Linked DNA regions of Homo sapiens: region 2 is linked to region 1. The links are contacts of gene promoters, found by promoter capture Hi-C in blood cells and fetal thymus (Javierre and others, 2016). All regions are on one chromosome and are shown on one strand. Each heading gives the region's core, a stretch centred on a gene start or on the middle of the fragment in contact. The rest is flanking DNA. Distances are from core to core; before and after follow the strand shown. Region 1 holds the start of RERE (arginine-glutamic acid dipeptide repeats). Region 2 holds the start of ERRFI1 (ERBB receptor feedback inhibitor 1).

What was found. Contacts are between HindIII fragments. The CHiCAGO score rates a contact against its expected background, and 5 or more counts as called.
Region 2: a contact is called between a fragment that was not itself captured here and the fragment with the promoter of RERE in region 1, in 2 of 17 cell types (total B cells and naive B cells). The highest score is 6.3, in total B cells.

The regions. Positions count from the first base shown.
Region 1 is chr1:8,816,379-8,823,538 of GRCh38, forward strand. It overlaps RERE (arginine-glutamic acid dipeptide repeats), which reads right to left and starts at 1,262. Exons shown (of 23, transcript NM_001042681.2): 1 at 782-1,262. RefSeq lists silencers at 860-919, 1,170-1,469, 1,570-1,799, 5,562-5,785 and an enhancer at 1,212-1,506. The HindIII fragment of the contact is 6,239 bases long and covers 1-3,795 here.
Region 2 is chr1:8,019,039-8,026,393 of GRCh38, forward strand. ERRFI1 (ERBB receptor feedback inhibitor 1) reads right to left here and starts at 7,271. Exons shown (of 4, transcript NM_018948.4): 1 at 7,120-7,271. RefSeq lists silencers at 7,087-7,186, 7,307-7,355. The HindIII fragment of the contact is 1,222 bases long and covers 778-1,999 here.

The sequences.
Region 1 (7,160 bases), core at 12-2,511:
CAATGTTTGAAGTCTGTAATCCAGAAAAATTGTAAGCAAACCTTGGAAAAGAGACAGAGGAAAATGACAATTCAACAATGAATCATTCTGTTTTCCTTTCAACAACTTCTCAAGCAACCAGTTTCAAAGGAAGCCTGCAACACTTTTCCCCCCTCCTAGCAGACACACATACACACGTGTATGTAAAACTACGAATCTTTCCATCATCTTAAAAATTAGTAATAAATAGAAGCCACCCTCCTTCAGAGAGCAGAACTAAAACAGGATAGTAAGAATTCTATTCTGCTGCAAGTGACTTTGGGTTTCATAATTTTCTAATCACATACAGCTGAGAACTAGAGATTGGGAGCACAAAGAGGAAATCTTCCCCCAATGAGAAAATGATACTTTAATAATAAAGTCCTCCCCCCAGCACCCCGAAATCCACAAACATTCAAGAAATTTACAGTTTCAGTCCTTGACTTCCTTCCCTTCCAGTTTCAGCCAATAATGTAGTCACATGAAATAGTTTAACCTCAAACAAGTAGAACAAGAGCATGAATAAGAGGCCAAGAGAGAGCAGGGGTCAGAAGGCACGCAGGAACGGTCACCTGGCCCGGACAGGACCAAAGAAGTGCCCTGCCCTCGCCCGACTCCCCTCGACTTCGGCTTCGACCCCAGCCTTTTCTTCCTGCCTCCCCCCGGGCGAGTGACTGCTTTCACGGCCGACCCTCTCTGACCACCAGGACGAGGGGCCAAAAAAGAAAGCACACGACCCGGCGCGGGCAAGTTGGACACTTACCTTCCCCTAAAGCGCTACACCATCAATAGTGAGGTGTTCGCGGCCCAGCTCCGGGGAAAGTGGCGGGGATGGGGCGGGAGGCCGCGCGGAGGCTGCGGGGCCGCGGGGCGCAGGGCCGAGAGGGGCGGCCCGCGGGGAGGCGACGCGGAGGGGCTGAGGGGGCTTCCCTGCCGTGACCTTTCCTGCGACTTGAACCTAGGCTCCCTCCTCCTCGGTCGGGCAGATCTTTCAGAAGCAGGAGCCCAGGATCATGTCTGGTTTTGTTTTCCGAGGGCGAGGGGGCTCCCTGAGGATGATGGTGATTTTTTTTTTTTTTTAATCCTCAACTAGGAGAGAAAATGAGGCAGAGACAATGTGGGGAGCGAGAGAGGGGAAAAGGACGGGGGAGGAGGCGGGGACCGAGGCCCAGCGGGGCGAGCGTCTCGGGGTGTGCGGGAGGCTGAGGAGGCTCCGGAGCGCGGAGGGTTGCTCGCGAGCGTCTGTGGGAACAGCGGCACCTCCGCGATGGTGGCGGAGCCGCGGCGGAGCTGCTGCACCGACCCGCCGCCCACTCCCCGCTCGGGCCCGGCCCACCTCGCAGTATCGCGCCCCTCCATTGGTACAGCGCGGTGTGACGCGGCCGGGGGCCCGGCCAATGGGAGGCGGAGGAGGCGGGATCTCTTTTTCCTTTTTTTTTTTTTTTTTTTTTTTTTTTTAATCTTTTTAATAAAATGAGCAGAGAAGAAGGCGGAGAGAGGCCGAGCCTTGACAACGCCGCGGCCCGGGGCTCGAGGGCTCGCGCTGCAGGCGGCGGCCAGAGGCGGTGGGCTGGGCTCCCGCCGCGGGCGCGTCTTTGTGAGAGTGCGAGGCCGGCCCTCCTCCGCCGCCCGCCGCGCTCCAGTACCGCCCCCCGCGCCCCCCGGGCTGGGCCGGGCTGGCGGCGCGGGCAGGTCCCGGGTGGGGTGGGGGGAAGTCCGGTTGATCTTGCTGTTACCCGGGTCTTAATTGGCCTTTTCAGTCATTAGGACGCGGATCCATGTTGCTGCGGGCTACAGAGTGGGTGTAAACCATTCTCATATGGACTCTTTCGAAATTCTGATGAGCGGCTTGTAATATTTTTCAAATAGTGTACATGACAAAAGATGAATTACAGAAAGAAAAATAAAAGTGATAAGTCGCACTGCTTATTTGAAAAGAATAAAAAGTGTCATGAAGGCATAAAGGAGAGACTGTACAGGTACAGAAGGGATTTTAGAAAGAGCAGTGTACAACTCTATAAGGTACGTGTGAAAAAAAATCTAAAAAGAGGAAAAGACCAAACATCACCTCTTTTTCTTTGAAGAATGAAGTATTGTGTCCCACTTCCCGAAAGCCTGATAATCACAGGGTCTATCATGCTGTAAAGGGAGTAGGGGCAGGCCAAATGATCATATTCTAGTTCATATAATTTATGGGATTGAGGGGTTTGGAAATTTCAATTATGATTAGCAGTTTTTGAAATGCACATCATGTTTATTGAGTTCTTTCACAGAGCCTGGCACGAATCCAGGGTGAATCATCAACCTATTGTTGGTTTGTTAATATTCTGTAAATGCTTATTGGTGTCCTTATACCATACACTCTTCCCGAAGGAGTTAAGGTCCGTATAAAATAAGGGGTAGAAAACGTAGCACAAAATAATTCACTCATCTGTTTCAAAAGAAGTGATAATTTTCTCCTTGGAAAATCTATTCAGATTATAATTTCCACATTGAATTATTCATTTTTTTTTTTTTTCTGAGAGGGAGTTTCACTCTTGTTGCCCAGGCTGGAGTGCAATGGCGCGATCTCGGCTCACCGCCACCTCCGCCTCCTCAGTTCAAGCGATTCTCCTGCCTCAGCTTCCCGAGTAGCTGAGATTACAGGCATGCGCCACCACACCCAGCTAATTTTGTATTTTTAGTAGAGATGGGGTTTCTCCATGTTGGTCAGGCTGGTCTCGAACTCCTGACCTCAGGTGATCCGCCCGCCTCAGCCTCCCAAAGTGCTGGAATTACAGGCGTGAGCCACCGCACCCGGCCCACATTCAATTATTCTTTAAAGAATAATTTGGACTAACAGATACTATTGGACCATGACCCAAGAGATCTTAAAAAAAAAAAAAAAAGCCATAGATCCTTGCCATCACATTTCTGAGTAACTTTCAGCAAGAAAAATCCTCTTTGCTGGAGTTATGAAATGGGGAAACTAGTTAATATCTCTTTATATATCTGATAATGTGAGAACTGAATTTTAAAACCTAATAAATTCAATAAACTGCTTCCAACATTCTAGATATGGATAGGACTATCTGACTTCCTGTTTGGAAATGATGAGGGATAAAGTATATCAGTTAGATGGCTTCACTTTCCATCAAAATCTCTATCTACAGGAGCATTCTTTCTTTTTTTTCTTTTTTTTTTTTTTGAGACAGAGTCTCGCTCTGTTGCCCAGGCTGGAGTGCAGTGGCACGATCTCAGCTCACTGCAACCTCCACCTCCTCGGTTGAAGCGATTCTCCTGCCTCAGCCTCCTGAGTAGCTGAAATTACAGGTGTGTGCCGCCACACCCAACTAACTTTTGTAATTTTAGTAGAGATGGAGGTTCACTATGTTGCCCAGGCTGGTCTCGAAACTTACAGGAGCATTATTTCTAATAAAGATTCAGCTCTGTGGTAGACAAATGGACAATGCACTGCCATCCAGCAGGGAGGAGAGAGGCTCTCCACGTTAGGAAATAACATTTACTATGGTATTAGGGATTGGCCGTCACTTTCATTTATCCATAAAAATGTAAATTTAGAAGTCCAGAAATGCCACATAGTTACAAAGCATAATATATGGTATCAGACCACAAAATTAGCAAACTAAACCCATTTAACTGTAACAGTCCCACGAAAGAATTGTGGTCCAGCCATAAAGCCGGAGAGTACTGGACCTCCTTCCAAGGATCTGAGAAGCTGATAATGCAGTAAAATAATCTTCATCGTTAAGAACAACTATTAAACTATTGATTGAAAGCTTATGTTCCCAGTGCCCTAAGAAACATGTTACATTCTTTAGCCCACTTTTTCTCCCCATGAAGTGTATTATTATTATCTCTTTTTTTTTTTTTTTTTTTTTTTGAGACAGTTTCGATCTTGTTGCCCAGGCTGGAGTGCAATGGCGCGATCTCAGATCACCGCAACCTCTGACCCCCGGGTTTAAGCGATTTTCCTGCCTCAGCCTCCTGAGCAGCTGGGATTACAGGCATGTGCCACCATGCCCAGCTAATTTTGTATTTTTAGTAGAGACAGGGTTTTTCCATGTTGGTCAGGCTGGTCTCGAACTCCCAACCTCAGATGATCCGCCCGCCTCAGCCTCCCAAAATGCTGGGATTACAGGCGTGAGCCACTGCTCCCGGCTTATTATCTCCATTTTAAAAGTCAAGGAACTGGGGCTTACGGAAGTTAAAGAACTAGCTGAAGATTAAAGACGTAAAATACCGACTTGGATTTTTTTCCCATATTAAATTTTTAAAAGTTTCCTTATTCTCTTTTCAGCAATATTTTTAAGTGGGAATTAAGTAAATAAAGTAGTTATTGAATCTGAAAATATCAAGGACTTTTTTTAGTTATTTTATGTATCTTACTACAGGTAAGAAGTGATTTTTTTTTAAATATACAGAGATCACATCAGAGCTGTATTAAAGGAAGATGGAAAATGGGGATTATTTAATAAATGATATTGGGACAACAAGATAGCTATATGGGGAAACAAAAAACAACAACACACACCCACTAGATTCATATTACTCCTAACACACCCCACCCCCAAAATCACAGGTGGATTTCTTTATTTTTTTAATTGAAATTTTTTTTTTTTGGAGCCCAGGAATTTGAGACTACTCTGAGCAACATAATGAGACCCCCATCTCTACAAAAAAATTTTAAAAATTAGCTGAGTGTGATGGCACATGCCTGTAGTCCAGGCTATTTGGGAAGCTGAGGTGGGAGGATGGCTTCAGCCTGGGAGGTTGAGGCTGCAGTGAGCTGTGATCATGCCACTGCATTCCAACCTGGTGACAAGAGTGAGACCCTGTCTCAAAGGAAAAAAAAAAAGGAAGTTAGCCCTTGCTTATACGTGTTGAAAATGTTTCTCCCCAGTCTGCCTGTTTCTTGCATTGCTATGGTGTTTTTATGCCTTATAGGGATGTGAAATATTTATGCAGTAAAATTTATTGGTGTTTTTTCCTTTATGGCGTCTGGATTTCCTGCCATGTTAGAAAGAGCTTCTTCAATCCATGATTTGAAAAAGTTTTAGTGTTCTTCTAATACTTTTGATTTCATTTTTTAAAATCATAAAAATTTGGCATAGACAAAAGAATATACATTATGTGTACATAGGTTGAGGGGGATAATAATAAAATAAACACCAGTAAACTCAACCTAAGAAATTGTGGTTTAGTGGTTTCACTTTTTTAATCATTTATTTTAATTTTTTTTAGAGACAAGGACTTTTTTCTTTTCATATCAAGCATGGATAATTCTTATAATTAAAAAAAACCATTCAAGTTCTTTGAACATACAGCTGGTAACTAGTCTTCATAATTCACCAGCAGTACTCAAGCTTTAGAACATGTAAATTATTTTCCCCTAAAATGCCTTAAGCAGAACTAGGGTGCTTTAGCAGGCCTTGTAGCAGACTGAAGCTTGTTTCTAGGCATTTTCTATGAAATTGGCTTCCAAGTTTATGTAGTGCAAATATAAGCCAATAACGAGCCTCAGCTATATCTCCCGTTGCACTTTTTCAGGTTGAGCCTCCAGCAGCACTTCTTTCTTCCCCACTGCCAGTTCTCCGAGCTCACCTTGCATTTACCCACAGCGGGTTTTCACTTTATAATTTATTGTAAATCGAAATTTCTCCCTCTCCAGTTTTTTCCCCTTGGGCCAGGTAAGTAACCCCTGGTAGCCTTTGAAAGTCCCTGCACTGAATTGGAACGGAGAAATGGTTGATGTTTCAGAGCACATGTGTGAGCAAATACAGAGAGAGGTGAAACAGCTTTTCAAAACAAAGGATCAAATATCAGAAACCCTTTTCCTTTGTTTGGCTGTGATTTATTGTGGATTAGCAATTAAGATTTCCAATTCTGGCCGGGCACAGTGGCTCATGCCTGTAATCCCAGCACTTTGGGAGGCCGAGGTGGGCAGATCACCTGAGGTCAGGAGTCTGAGACCAGCCTGACCAACATGGTGAAACCCCATCTCTACTAAAAATACAAAATTAGCCGGGCATGGTGGTGCATGCCTGTAATCCCAGCTACTCGGAAGGCTGAGCCAGGAGAATCACTTAAACCCAGAAGGTGGAGGTTGCAGTGAGCCGCGATGGCGCCATTGCACCCCAGGTTGGGCAACAAGAGCAAAACTCCATCTCAAAAAAAAAAAAGATTTCCAATTCAACTCTAGACCCTATTGAATTTTATTTCCACCAAGGTAGAAGTGGGCCTGATTACCAACACACTTACAGATAGATCTCAAGAAACCCTGCTTCACTGGGCCACGTCGGATTTATGGGAGGGATGCCCTTCCCTTTGAGTCGCACTTTGAGCCACAGCATGTTGTCTGGGGCACTAGGATGCCGTTTGGATGAGATCTAAACCCAACATCTGACTTCTGACCACTTGTGGTTATTAAAAGTCTCCTAGGGCTTGTGAAAGAATTAAAGGGAGGAGACGCTGATTTTCATTGTCTTGGCCCAATTCCAAGTTTGATAATTAGGAGTCCTCCTCCCTCTGTCTTCCTGCCATTTCACTGAGACATGCAATTCCACACTTCCTGTTATAAACAGCTGTCCACTGTTAACTGAGTGAGCCAGAGAGCCAGCAAATTCCACCCTAGGGGAAGCTGCATTTCAAAATAAACATTTCCTCCACATCTACTTGTAAATTACCTAGGTTTACCTTGGAGGAAAGGTGTTATTTTCTAGGGATAAGAAGGGCATAATAATGGGGAGTTGAGAACTATCCACAAACCCTAGTTTGTCTAAACACCAAACAAACAAGACTAACATTGATCACAAAGGGGCCCTCAGAAGAAATCTCCTCACTAAAGAAAATACATTTTAGATTCTAAAATTGTCTTTAGGGGGTCCAGAATTTAATTGTATAACATTGATGTGGCAGGTGCTATTAGCCACCAAAACTCACTTCTTCAATCCAAGGCATCTACACAAACAGAATAAAGAGGAAAAACTCTGTAACCCCGGAAAAAAAAAAAAAAAAAAAAAAAAAACAGAAAAATTCACCTCCGCCATCCACGCTCCGGTGTCGATGTGACACATGCCTGGACACTCATTTTAGTGCTTCCCTCCTCTTTGTTCAGCTTTTCCAGGCACCTTAATTTCAAA
Region 2 (7,355 bases), core at 139-2,638, 800 kb before region 1:
CACCATTTTTAACCTGAGGCCATGTACATTCAATTGCCAAGTTCCACAGACTACTTTTACATGGTTTCTCAAATCTTACCCTTCCATTGACAGGCATCATTCTTCCTGGGGTCTGGCAATATGCAACCTATTCTACAACACTAGTACCAAGTCAATATTCCTTAACAACAGCTCAAGCTAAGATTTGCTGCTGCTCAAAAAACCTTCAAAGGCTCCTAAATAAAACCTCCTCAGCCTGGCAATTTAGGGCCTCCACAATATAAACCTAATCTATATTTTCAAGCGCGCTTCTATTTTCCCCAAATCTCTGTTACAATTCGATTCATCCTTTAAGGTCAGCTCTACCCTGCCTTCTCCATGAAGCCGCTCCCTTTCATGAAACACTGGAGCAGCGGTGCTCTGTTCTTGTGTTATTTTGTGCTGGGCCCCAATTCCCCTTCCACTCTTCAAATCATCTAGGACAGAACTGATGTCTGATTTATGCTTTCCCCCTGTAGATCTTGGCATCATTCATGTCTATTATTTATTAAATGGATACTGAGAAAATATCCATCTCATTTTTAAAAAGTAATGACATGAAAGATTCACATACACTGTGAGTCAGTGAAGAGCTCAGGGGAGAAGCAGATTTATAAAGGATAAAGTTAATGCGTGCTGGAGTGAGGCGACTGCCCAATAATAATGTAACAACCTTAGGATATGTAACAGGAAGGAATTTTTATGAAATTCATTTCCAGAATTCAAAGAAGACAGTTTGTAGACTGAGTAAAAATTATAAGCTTCAGTGGTTAACAGTGTAGCTTTCTAAACTGGTTTCTGTTACAGTATATTTACTTGAAGCAATTGGGGGGGTACTTTCTTAAAACAGTGTTTTGCCTTCTCTTAAAACACTATTCCTTCTAGACTGTGTTTTTGCTGCTGAATTTAAGGTGACTTTCATTTTTCTAAAAAAGTTACACCAAAAGCACACTGCACCTTCTTCATTAAGGTGAAATCATATGCCTTTAGCTTGAGGACAGTCTCTTTGAAACTGCTTAAAAAAAAAAAAAAAAGAAAAATGCAGGCTACCTTAAGGCAGTAACCTAGATATGCTTACCTGGCCACCAGATCTCATTAATAAATCTCAGAAGCCATCCATGGGAGGAGGAGGGGCACATTTTTGTCATACAACTCATCCAGTTCTGCCCAGTGCTTCCTTATTTAAGAGTGTGATGTAATTTCCTCCTTTCAATCTGGTTCTAGAACCTGATTTCTGTTTATTCAGGGTGATAAATGGTCTTTTCAGTTCCATTTAAGAATCACCTACATTAAGTACTTCCATAACCAAGGAAGATAATAAGGTAACTACATTTAAAGGCAAAATTTATAAAAGGAAACTGATTTAGGAATATGACAAACTCCATGATTTTAGATCCTCCCCAAATATACCAATCTCTGCATGTTTATTTTTTAAAATGTCTAAAATAATCACCTGTGAGGAAATTAAAACAAACAAACAAACAAAAAAACACCAATTTTTTTTTTTTTTTTTTGAGACGGAGTCTTACTCTTGTCACCCAGGCTGGAGTGCAATGGTGCACAGCACAATCTCCACCTCCCAGGTTCAAGCGATTGTCCTGCCTCAGCCTCCCGAGTAGCTGGGATTACAGGCATGCACCAACTCGCCAGGCTAATTTTTGTATTTTTAGTAGAGATGGGGTTTCTCCACATTGGTCAGGCTGGTCTCAAACTCCTGACCTCAGGTGATCCTCCTGCCTCGGCCTCCCAAAGTGCTGAGATTACAGGCGTGAGATACCACGCCCGGCCCAGATTTCATTTTAATAGCCTATGATTTAGGTAGGGGTAGGAAAAGAAAGAGGGAGGCAAGTTAAGAAAACTTCCTTAGTTGTACTCTCTACCATGGTAAGCATAAGTAGCCTTTAAATTAAAAACATAGATTACTTTTAAAATAATGCCATGTTTTAATGTAATTAAAATACTCCTGCATGAATTCAAGAAAAGCTTGATGGCTTCAGTAAACATTAAAATATAGTTCAGTGTGGCAAAGATGAACATTTGTGTCTGTGTTTGCAGCTCCATTCCTCAGAGGCTCTTAAACATGTCCAGAACATAATGGACCATTTGTAGGTGGTGAAATAGAGGCAACAGAGAAAATAATTTATCTTCAAACTGTCAAATAAAAAATAAATGACGTAATTTATTCAATAATTCAGAATGCTTTCTAGCTAAGTATTTTAAAAAATGGTAAACTAACAAAAAACCCATTCCCTCAACTACCATAATCCAGTCTTTCAACTCACTTAAGCCTCCCACACAATTTTAGTGTGACAGCAGAAAAGTAGGATAGCAGGAATACATTCTTTTGTCCTTTGTATTTCTCCTACAGAGTAGCACAATCAGTAACTATATATACACACAGAGGGGAGAAAAATATTATTTCTTTTTGACATATAACAATAGATTATTTCTTACTATAAAAGTGAATTCTAATCTAAAGACAACGAGCACAATGGTCTAATGATGGGACGCAAGTCTTTAAAACTTCAAATTTATTTAACAAGCATTTAAGTTACCCGATGGGTAACTCTAGATTGTTACAATTAATATAAAACCATTAATGATAACTAACATTCACTGGACATACAACTGCCAGGCAAGCATGGTTCTAAGTGCTTTATGTGTATGAACTCATTTAATCCTCTCTACAATGCCATAAGGTGGGCTACTATTATTACTCTCACTTACTTGAGGCACAGAGTTAAAGAACTTGCTCAAGGTCAAAACTGGTGAGCAATGGGGCCAGGACTTCAACTAGACAGCCCGGCCTCAGTGTCCAGGCCCTTCACCAACACACCACACTGCCTCTTCCTGTCCCTACGGCTTTTTAAACTGGCGAAGTAGGATCCGACTGACTATACTGCTCAACTTGTAAGGGTAGCACAGATCCTTTTTTATGGATTTACTGGTAATAGTTTTTCTTGGGTAACCTGTAGCCTATGAAAGTTCCTGTTTCACTTCAACTCCCTCAAATTCTCCTATTAAAAGTTATTAATTGTAGATCTGGCCTATGTATCCTCTAAAATGGGTGGGTTAAGGCATCAATTTGACATTCTATTACCACTTCAAACAACTATTTTGAAGCCCTCAGTCTTTAACGATCCACGGATGCCCCACCACAACAGAACTCTTTACAACATGGTTATTTCATATAACACAAGTCTGTTTTTACTCGTAATAAGCGGTTACTACATATACCCAACGGGCCTCCTTTTAACATGCTTTCACAGCATGGATCCCAATGATGGCATTATAATCACACTGTATTGTAAAATCCGGAATTTAACAATAGCATACCTTATATTTGTAAAGCACTCAACAAGTTACAAAGCACCTTCTTACACATTATCTCACTTGATCCCCACAACATCCCTGTAAGAAGAGGCAGGGATTAGAATCTCCATTTTGCAGATGAGGAAACAAAGTGAGGTTAAATATCTTGCTATAAGCAAAAGGGCGATCATGGCTCTTCTGTACTATAATCCAGCATTTTCCCCACACTTTCACTACCTCTCCACTCTATAGTATCTTCATTTTAGGCAACAACCTCATTTCTCCTTGTAACATTCTTGTTTATAAATGGAGAAACTGAAGCAAAAGGCTGTTAAGTTAAATGCTCAAGACCTAAGTGCTAGTCAATAGCAGAGGCAGGAACAGAAACTCAACTCATAGTGCTCATTCAGCTCAAAAATTCTTAGAGGGCAAGGATTAATTCTTTTCACAAATATTTATCAAGTGCTTATTCTGGATTAGACACCATGTGAGGTGAAAAATAGAGATGGCTGCTGCCTGAAGAAGCCTTCCATCTAATGAGGGAGGAAGAGAATAGCCAAGCAAGCAAACAATTTTAGATGGCGATACCTTCCAAGGAAACAAGCAGGGTACAGCAGCAATAGGATAAGGAGGCAGAGGAGCATATATTTACACAGGTGGTTTGGGAAGGCCTCTCTGAGTAGGTGACTTTTAAATGGAAATCTAAAGGCTGAAAAAGAGGCAGCCCTGATAAGAGTCAGAAGACAATTCTACTGAGCGAATAGTTGTTTAAAAAACAATCTGTAACTAGTCCAGTTTCACATCTGGGGTATTGAATAAGAGCTTTTGGATAATGTCTTCCAATCCTTACCTTCCTATTGTTTCCAAGTTGAAAAGGGCTCCATTTCTGTAGCCAAAGCCCCACATTTTTTTGTTTGTTTATTTTTTAAAGACAGAGTCTCACTCTGTCACCAGGCTGTAGTGCAGTCGTGTGATCTTGGCTTACTGCAACCTCTGCCTCCCAGGCTCAAGCAATCCTCCCACCTCAGCCTCCTGAGTAGCTGGGACTACAGACGTGTGCCACCATACCCAGCTAATTTTTGTGTTTTTTTGTAGTGACAGGGTTTCACCATGTTGCCCAGGTTGGTCTCATACTCTTGGGCTCAAGCCATCTGCCCGCCTTGGCCTCCCAAAGTGCTGAGATTACAGGCCTGAGCCACTGAGCCCGGCCAAAAGCCCCACATTTTAAAGACACATTCATTGAGACCTGGAAGAGTGGTCTTTTCGTAATATTGCCCAATTTTATGGTGTGAGGAATTGGACTACAGTATCAACAAAGACTTGAAATCTGAGAATCCTCCCCACCACCTTCTGAAATCTGAACCCCCCTCAGTAACTTTTCCCTATCTTAAAACTAATTGTTAAGGTAGTAACTTACATTTAGGACCCTCAAACTCATTCGCCTCATCTACCTTTACAAAGCACGTGTTTATGCTGTGTGAACAATGCCAGAATACCACAACTGGACTGCGTTTATGTAGCGAGTTCTTTATTAGCTTTTGTATAGCCAGACACCCGCAAAGGATGCTAAATGTATCCAAATGGATCCAGATGATGAGGTACCAATTCAAATTTATTTAGATCAAGAGCAGAGTTGTTTCTCTGGCAGAGGGAGCCTATGCCATTCCAATTCCTGGAGTTACCCCTGACACCTCCTTTCCTTCCTCTGCTCCTTTCTAAAGCAATCTGATGGTATGCAGACAATCAGGTCAGTTTCAAGCATGTTAGATTGTGCCTGTAATTTACGCAAATTGCTTTGAAAAGCCACCATTAGTTTCAGCAGAAAGGAAGTATTATCTAGCTCAACTTTTGAGAAGCAGCAGTCAAGAGGTATTTTCACACAAAAACTCAAGCATAATTAAATCTTATAAAGAGTGACCAGTATATATTGTGAACTGCAAGTAGGAAAACCGATGATTGAAACAACAGTTTTACCCGTCAAAAATATCAATAATTCAGGCATTTCATAACAGCCATAAAAAAATTAAACAGATTTGCTTTCCAACCCTTATCAATGACTGCTCCAATCCTGCTGAGCCTTAAAAGGTAAAACATGCTTTCATGCAATTATTTATCAACATCAACTATGTGCAAGGCTGCATAAGATAGAAGCTATACAAGGCAGAGTGCCTACCCTTAAGGAGTTTACAATCTAATATATCTGTCAGGTTATAAATCGTTAGTCTAAGACCTCTATCACTTATTATCGAGTGTCCCCTGGAACACACAGGTGAAAATAAACTTCTGCTTGAAGCAAAGGGAATGACAAATAGTTTCTGAAGTCCATGCTAAATCCTTTGTTATTTTTCTTCAAACTTGCTAATATCTGGAAAAGAACTTGCTTGATAACATATTGGTAACCAATTATAGCCAGCATGTTAGCAAGAAACCAGCTTCTTTTATTTTGGTCTTTGCAAAATTTGATCATTTGCTGATACCTAGCCTGTCTTTGGTCTCTGTTCAAATAAAATTTCACTTAAAACTGTATATTGTAATTACAGAAATATAAGAAAAGAAATGCAGTTAAAAAAATAGGTACGGTGAACTTGGGATGTTCAGTCTCAACAAATGTGTGTACCCACTGCATTCTTACACATTTATAAAAGGTTGAACATTTGTTCTGGAAGGGAAAAAAAGGGCATTTTAACCTCACCTTTCTTCACCCCTGACAGTTGCCTAGAAACCAGTCTTGCCCTACCTGTGTTGCAGGTGTACCTCAAGTCACCGACACATCTCTTTTAAAGCTACAGTCTCCATTCTGACTTAAGTTTATGACTAACCATCTATTCATATTTTTATCAGGTAAGAGACTGGTTTCTTTCAAGCAATGATGAAATCCTAATAAAGACTTAGCAAGCACTAATACAGCACCATTCACGGTTAAAGAGTCATCTAATTTGTACAGGGCTATGATATACATATAAATACACACACAAAATTCCCAATAAGCATTCACGTCTTGAACACATAATTTTGCAGTCCGATTCCATTCAAAGCCGTACTTAAGACACTCAGAGCAAAGAATCACGTTTCTAGGAGAGAAGGAAGAGTTCAGAACAGCTTAGACGAATTTTTAAATACTGATTTCGGCATTACCATCGTCGCTGTGAGATTAGGCAGAGGGAGCGGGGCTGACCGCCAGAGAACCGGTACCAACCACCGCAAGCAATCGCCGAGCCTCCCACCCCAGCTTTCAAGACAGGATTTACGGGTACACGGTGTGAACAAGACAACGCAACCCCCTTTTTACAAATAAAAAAAAAATCAAACAAGCCCCCAGGCCCGAAGACGCTCATCCCCGCCGGGCAACCCCGCGAGCGCAGGCTGCGGGACGAGGACCTTCATGCTCGCCGCTCCCGAACCCCCGTCCGCTCCTGCGGTCCCGGTGCTGCGGGGACGTATCCCGGGCGCTCGGGTGCATGGCCCCGGCCAGCCGAGGGGCCGCGCGACGACCACAGCCGGCGTGGAGAAGGCGGCGGGCGCCGGCACTTCGCGGCGTCCCCAGGCCCGGGCTGCGCCGCCGGGGAGGGTCCCGCTCTCCACACCTCAATGGGGAGAAGCCCGCGAGCGACCGGCCGGCCTCTCCCTCCATCCCAGAGACTCCGCGTCGCGGCGACCCTCCCCGCGCCCTCCACGCCCCCGCCCTCGCGTCGGGGAGCCGCCTGGATCCCGGCGCCCGGCGCGGGGCCCCCTGAGGGAACGGAGCGCTGCGTGGCCCTCCCCACCCCCTCAGCGCGCCAGGCCCCTTACCCCGGAGGAGCGGCGGCTGCCCCGCGGCGCCCTCCCGCGCATGTCCGTCCCGGCTGGCTCAGCGCCGCGGGCTCAGGGGCCCGGACATCGCGCAGGCGCCTCTTGCTGGCTCGCGCTCCCGCTAGCACTCTGCCTCGCACCGGACCGCCGTCGCCGCGGCTGCCGCCGCCGCCTCTATATATAGCATAGGCCGCCGGGCCGTGAGGTCGCCGCGTCCCGCCCCGCCTCCTCCCGCA